Linked DNA regions of Homo sapiens: region 2 is linked to region 1. Evidence: promoter capture Hi-C in human tissues and cell types (Jung and others, 2019). All regions are on one chromosome and are shown on one strand. Each heading gives the region's core, a stretch centred on a gene start or on the middle of the fragment in contact. The rest is flanking DNA. Distances are from core to core; before and after follow the strand shown. Region 1 holds the start of APCDD1L (APC down-regulated 1 like). Region 2 overlaps APCDD1L (APC down-regulated 1 like).

The links. Contacts are between HindIII fragments. The study calls those that stand out against the background at their distance.
Region 2: a fragment that was not itself captured here is called in contact with the fragment with the promoter of APCDD1L in region 1 in 1 of the 25 tissues and cell types used here (ovary).

What each region holds. Positions count from the first base shown.
Region 1 is chr20:58,513,644-58,517,037 of GRCh38, forward strand. APCDD1L (APC down-regulated 1 like) reads right to left here and starts at 1,756. Exons shown (of 4, transcript NM_153360.3): 1 at 1,016-1,756. The coding sequence starts at 1,064. It overlaps APCDD1L-DT (APCDD1L divergent transcript), which reads left to right and starts at 1,736. Exons shown (of 7, transcript NR_034147.1): 1 at 1,736-2,097. RefSeq lists an enhancer at 359-1,357. The HindIII fragment of the contact is 21,415 bases long and covers 1-3,394 here.
Region 2 is chr20:58,473,614-58,477,007 of GRCh38, forward strand. All of the region lies in intron 1 of APCDD1L (APC down-regulated 1 like), which reads right to left. Among named protein-coding and RNA genes, the nearest start is that of APCDD1L-DT, 40 kb to the right of the region's middle. The HindIII fragment of the contact is 5,723 bases long and covers 1-3,394 here.

The DNA.
Region 1 (3,394 bases), core at 506-3,005:
GGTTCTCGGCTGCCATTCCCTGAACATGAGCTCAGTGCCAGGCAGCAAGTGGAGTGATCCTCCTGCACGTGCTCTCGTAATCTTCACAATCATCCCAGACGGAGGAGGGGATTTTGTGAGCCCATTTGACAGGAAAGAAAGTCAAGGCTGAGAGAGCCGATGGCCATGCTTACCCAAAGCCAGACGGGTTGATATGATGTTGATCTGGGCTTCCCAGCCAGGTGGTCTAACTCCAGGGCCAGAATTCTCAGCCATTCATAATGTGAGGGTGCTTGGGGATGAGCCCCCAGCTGGGCACACTTCAACTGTGGTTACTGTCATTTTTGTCAGTGGTGACTGGGCCCCTGTGATGGCACACTCCAGTCAGCTGGCCTTTGTACAGTTTTGTCTACCCTACTCCCCACCCCCACGAAGAGCCACCAGGGAACCCCTTAGTCCTGGAGAAGGCATTGACTACTCTACCAGGGGTTCCTGAAGCCCCTTGGTCCCCTTTGTCAGGCCTGCTGGGCACAACTCGAGCCTGGGGTCACTGCGCGCTCCCTAGCTTCTCCCCGAGTCCTGCTGCAGGAAGAAGCCCCGACCCCGCACAGGTCAGGATTCCGTGGGCAAAAACAACCCCAGTAACCTTGGTCTGAATAGCCGGGCTTGTCCCGCACCATGGGGGTCTCAGTGGGCCTGGGATCCTCCTGCATCTTCTTGGAGGCCCCGGTCCCACTGGGCCCGGCACAAAGGGCAGCTCTGGGTACCTACAGGCCAGGCCCCGACTGGCGCAGAGAGTGCAGCGGCTCTCATATTGCGAGGTGACGCGACTCCCTCCCGCAGGCCCCAGGAAGCTCCTGGAGGCGCGCAGGTGCCGGCCAGGTGAGACTGGAGAAAGGCGCGCAGGGCGCAGCATAGCAGCCGCGTGGGCCGACCCAGGGCCGTAGTCCCCAAGGGCCCTTAGGGGACATTAGACGGCGAGCTCCCTCCCTTCCGAGCTCAGCCAGTTTGCCGGGTGGGGGAGGGTGGCACCTACCTCCCAAAAGCACCAGGACGCAAGCGTAGGGGAGCATGGCTGCGGGCATCCCGTCGGGGCTGGCAGGACCGCCCGCCGGGCGCTGCCACGGTGCGCAAGGGGAGGCGCGGGCGCAGGGCTCTCGGACGGCTGCGGGCGCCGGCGGCCAGGCTGGAGTCCTGCGAAGAAGTTGCGAGGGTCCTGCGCCCCCCTCGGCGCTCACACGCGCTCAGCCTTCCCGGCTGTTGATAGTTGTAAGCGGAGCTGCGCACTCATAGGTCCAACTTGCCAGAAGAGGTGGAGACAGCCCCCGGCGAGGCGCGCACACCCGCGCAGCGCGCACAGCCCCCTGGTGCAGCTCCTGCCATTCAGACCCCCAGCCCTCCCCCAGATGTCCGTCCCCTGGCCGTCGCCTTCCCCAAAGTCTTCGCAGTGGGCAAGGAGGCCTCCCCCAAGCTCTGGTCCCGGCCAAGGCAGAGCGATGCGCTCCTTGCGTCAAAGCGCACCCCTAGCCAGGCCGTTCCCTGGAAGGGCAAGCGGGGCGGGGAGTTCCTCTAAGCCCCGCCAGTCCTGGGACCCCTGAAGTTTCTATTCAGGTCTTCCAGCTACTCCTGGAAAAGTCGCGTCAACTTGGATCCCAGCAAACCCAGAAGCGCAGTGAAAGTGGCCAACCCGGTCGCCTAGAAGCCAGCCCCGGCCTCTGTCTGTAAATGAGGCCGTCACCCGCTCCCCACCACACCCAAACGCATCTAGGCAAAGTGTGGACCCGACCAGGCGGGTTTTCCTCCTTCTCGCAACTCCTCCTCCTGCCCCCCTCCCTCCCAAATCTCATCTGAGTGAGTCAGCTGAGGGTGGCAGCTCAGAAGCGAGGCAGCCGTGAGGCGGAGGACAGGCTGGGGGATCCCAAAGGGTGCGCTCCAGCCCCCAACCCAGGCACTGGGACTCTGGTGGCACCCTGGGTGGCAGGCAAGCCTTGAAATCAAGTGCACGAGCCTTGGAAAGGAGGACCGGGAGAGTTATGGCATTTATGAATGAAGAAGAGAAAGAGAATCACTCGGATGGGAAAAGTTAACTGGATTGTTCCCACCTGCATGGATCACCGGGTAACTGCAGTGGGACCGAGGGGGCGAGGCTGCGGGCTGGGGATGTGCGGGTTTCCTTGTGTTGCCACGAACCCAGAGAGGGAGAGGAAGAAGATGGAAAGAAAAAGGAAAAAGGGAAAGAAAGTAAGAGGGGAGAGAGGGGAAAACTGAGGATGAAGAGAGACAGAGAAGAGAGACCTGAGAGAGGGAGAGAAAGAAAGAGACAGAAAGAGAAATGAAAGTGAGGAAAGGGGAAACAGGCAGAGAAAGAGAGAGAAAGGGGAGGAAAGAGAAAGGGAAAAGAAAGGAGGGAGTGAAATCAACAGAAAAAAGAGAACCAGGAAGGAGGAGGGAGGGGGAGAGAGAAGAGAGAAGAGAGAGAAGAGAGAACAAGAGAGAAGAGAGAAGAAGAGAGAAGACAGAGATGCGGTCTCCCTGGGGAAAGGTTTGGAGAACTGGGCCAGGCCTGTTTCCCGGGACTCACGAGTGAGCAGTCCACCTGCCCCTCTGAAGCATTTTATAGACTCATTTGTCCCACTTTTGTGGGCTGATCATCCCACAGGGGAACAGGGGACACCACCTCACCTTTTGATTTCTTACCAGAAACTTGGGCGAGGCTTCCAGGAGCCACAAGAGCCCTTCAATCCACCCAGGGACCCCCGATGTGGGCCCACCAGCCATCCTTAGCTTTCCTCCTCTCCAGAGGCAACAGGGAATAGGAAAAAGTCCAGAGCAAGGCCACACCATGATCTTAACGCAAATGGAAATGTGAGGAAAACGATCAATTTGCTTCCTGAAAATGACATTTTTTTTTTCTGGTTTCTATGAGACTCGAGGTGGCCTTGCTGAAACTGAAATCGGTATGAGCTTTCCCTGGCAGACAATGGCCATTGTCACATATTAAATTCTCATGAAAGGGATAACTTTGTGGGCAAGAGGAGAGTTGTGCAGGGTGATTATTTATACTTGCATAATTGTGATTATTTGTGGCAATTATGGGTCTTTCAATGTACAAAATTTACAATTATGGGTAGTTTAAAAACTACATGCTAAGGCCGGGTGCCGTGGCACACACCTGTAATCCCAGCTCTTTGGGAGAGCCAGACGGGTGGGTCACCTGAGGTCAGGAGTTTAAGAGCAGCCTGGCCAACATGGTGAAACCCCGGCTCTACTAAAAATACAAAAATTAGCTGGGCGTGGTGGCGGGCGTCAGTAATCCTAGCTACTCCAGAGGCTGAGGCAGGAGAATCACTTGAACCTGGGAGGCGGAGGTTGCAGTGAGCTGAGATCATGCCATTGCACTCCAGCCTGTGTGACA
Region 2 (3,394 bases), core at 480-2,979, 40 kb before region 1:
TCTCTTCCTCCAAAAAAGTCTTAACTAAAGAAATAACAGCTGAAAGCAGATGGTGCGGTGGGTTGGGTTACACAACTTTTTGCAGGGAAGTGATAGACGGAGTTAAATGCATGGACCAAATTGACTTTTATCAACCATGGATTTTTAATTAACAGTGGTGTCCACTTACTGTCATTCATTATTTACTGTTTACCCACTAATTAAAAATTATGCTGTTTTTGCATTCATAAGAGCAGGGACATTTGAAATTAGATAGCATTGTTCAAATTACCTGCAGAATTAAATCTAGAGTTCCCAATTGCTCAGACCAGGCTACCGGAGCTTAAAATATGACCTGCTTGAGGCCGATGTGTTATCCTGAATCAGAGCACCAGAAACAGGCCTCATGAACAAATACCATATGGACCTGCCTGGGGCCTTCCGGGGAAAGGACACTCACTGAGCACACCCAGAAGTGTGGGCACTTGGCTAAGATTGTCTTGAGATCATCAAATGGTGCCCAGCGTCTCCTGAGCACACATTCTGGGAGGCCCAAGGCCAGGTGCTTCATCTGCATCATGACCTTGAGTCCTCACAGCGGCAGCGTGTCAGTACCTTGGCAGAGCCCAAAGGATTGACAGGTATAATCGACACAACCACCCGTGACATGGGTTCTGTCAATGCACCCATTTTGCTGATGAGGAAACTGTGGTTCAGAGGGGTGGAGGGACTTGGCCATTGCCACTCCTCCACAGACAGATGCTTCTTAGCTAAATAAAACACAACAACACACCTAGTAAAATACACCTAACATAAAAGGTACCATCTTGGCTGGGCACGGTGGCTCACACCTGTAATCCCAGCACTTTGGGAGGCCGAGGTGGGCGGATCACCTGAGGTCAGGAGCTTGTGACCAGCCTGGCCAACATGGTGAAACCCTGTTTATACTAAAAGTACAAAAACTAGCTGGGCATGGTGGCGCGCACCTGTAATCCCAGCTATTCGGGAGGCTGAGGCAGAAGAATCGCTTGAACCCAGGAGGCAGAGGTTGCAGTGGGCCAAGATCATGTCATTGCACTCCAGACTGGGTGACAAGAGTGAGACTCAGTCTCAAACAAAACAAAACAAAACAAAACAAAAAATAACAGGCACCGTTTTAACCATTTTAAAGTGAACAATTTGGTGGCATTAGGACATTCACAATACCGTGCAAACACCAACACGATCTCATTCCAGAATGTTGTCATCACCTCAAAAGGGGACCCTGTGCCCATCAGCAGTCACTCCCGCTCCCCTCTCCTCTTAGATCTCGGCAACAATGACTCCGCTTTCTGTCTCTGTGGATTTGCCTATTCTGGATATTTCATAAAGATGGAATCCCACACTCTGTGCCCTTCTCTTACCTCCCTTCCCCAGCAATTCTCCTAGATGGGTGTGGTTATTCCAGTTTGCAGATGAACAGTGGAGGCCTAGAGAGGCTTCACTCCTGGGGCCACAATTTATGTTTTCTTCAAAGATCATGAAAAACGCAGGTATGGATCAAAGAGAGAAGAGGGTGGAGAAAAGATGTGAGTTTTGTAGTCAGAGCAGAGGGAGAAATATCAGCTTTTCAGGTACCTTTCTTCTGGGGGTAAAAAGCAAAAGAAAAGTACTTTTTTCTCCTGTAATCTGCTTGTTCTGAGGTTCTCGAAGCAAGGCACGAACGAACACAGGGTGGGGTGCGAGGTGATTTCAGGCGCGAAGCGAGCACTTCGTATTCCAACAGTCACGCGTCGGTTTTAGAGGGTGTTAAAAGTGGCGGTAGTTATCATAACAGCCTTGTACTTGCATGGCCCGTTTTTCTGAGGACTGAGTTTTAAAAGGTGATTGATCTGAACTTGATATTAAAATATTTGGTATTTTAATTATTTTCTTTTAATATTTTAATAAAATCATATTTTATAAGGAGATGTACAAGGGACTCGTGGGTGTGGTAAATGGCCTGAGGGTGGTGCACGGAAGACGGAGGGAGGAGCAGCTCAAGGTGAACTCGTCACCTCACCTGAGGCACGCGAAAGGAGAGCATCTGGGCATCTCAGGGCTGCCACGACAAAGACCACACGCTGAGTGGCTGAAGCAACAGGAGTCGATCCTTTCCCAGTCTGGAGTCTGCAAGTCTGAAGTTTGAAATCAAGGTGTGGGTAGGGCCTCTCCCAGCACCTGGTGGCTCCAGGTGTCCCTTGGCTTGGGGCTGCATCACGCTGGTCTCTACCCCCATCTTCCCATGGCCTTCATCCCTACTTGTGTGTTTCCTCTGTCTGCACCTGTGTCCAAATCTCCCTCTCCTTTCTTTTATAAAGGCACCAATCCCTGGATTAGAGCCCACCCTAATCCTAATCCAGTGTGACTTCATCCTAACTTGATTACATCTGCAAAGACCCTATATCCAAATAAGGTCCTATTCCCAGGTACTGGGGGTTAGGACTCGAACATATCTTTTTTGGGGGGTTACATTCAACCCACAGCAGATAACAAGGGCCATCCAAAATTGAGGTCCCCCAGGTGACCCAACTATCATTCATTCATTCATTTCTTCTCCCCAACACAAACACTTATTTTTATTTATTTATTTATTTTGAGACGGAGTCTTGCTCTGTCGCCCAGGCTGGAGTGCAGTGGTGCAATCTCGGCTCACTACAACCTCTGCCTCCCAGGTTCAAGCAATTCTCCTGCCTCAGCCTCCTGAGTAGCTGGGACTACAGGCGCATGCCACCATGCCCTGCTAATTTTTGTATTTTTAGTAGAGACAGGGTTTCACCATGTTAGCCAGGATGATCTTGATCTCCTGACCTCGTGATCCACCCACCTTGGCTTCCCAAAGTTCTGGGATTACAGGCGTGAGCCACTGCGCCCTGCCCCAAATACTTATTGAATGCCTGTTGTATGCCTGGAAATGAAATGGACTCTGGGTCTATATGGCTGCACATGATGGTCAGAATTCCTGTTCTCCTGGAGAGACTGACATTAATCAAATAGACTCACATCAGAGTAGAACTTCAAACCATCCCAAGTGTCTTGATGGAAATTTAAACAATGGCCAACAACTTCAATGATTTCCCAGTGCACTTGGTTCAATATCCAAGCTTTCTTGTGTAGCCTCGAAGCCCTTTGAAACTGGGTGCCTTTTTACCACCAGATCATCCACCCCATCCCACCGTGCTTTTCCACTGTGAGTCCCTAGTGCTGAAAGGGCAAACCTTTGGCTGCCTTGAGGCTATTGCCTGTGCTGTTCCATCCTCTGCTCTGTGCTGGGCTCTCCATCTTCGCGGAGATCTCGGCATAAATGGCATTTCCTGGCAGTGCATCCTTTCCAGGCACCCCTCTTCTGTTCACTCCATTCTCTTCTCTCCTGTGCAGCACTCATCACATCTGGCAT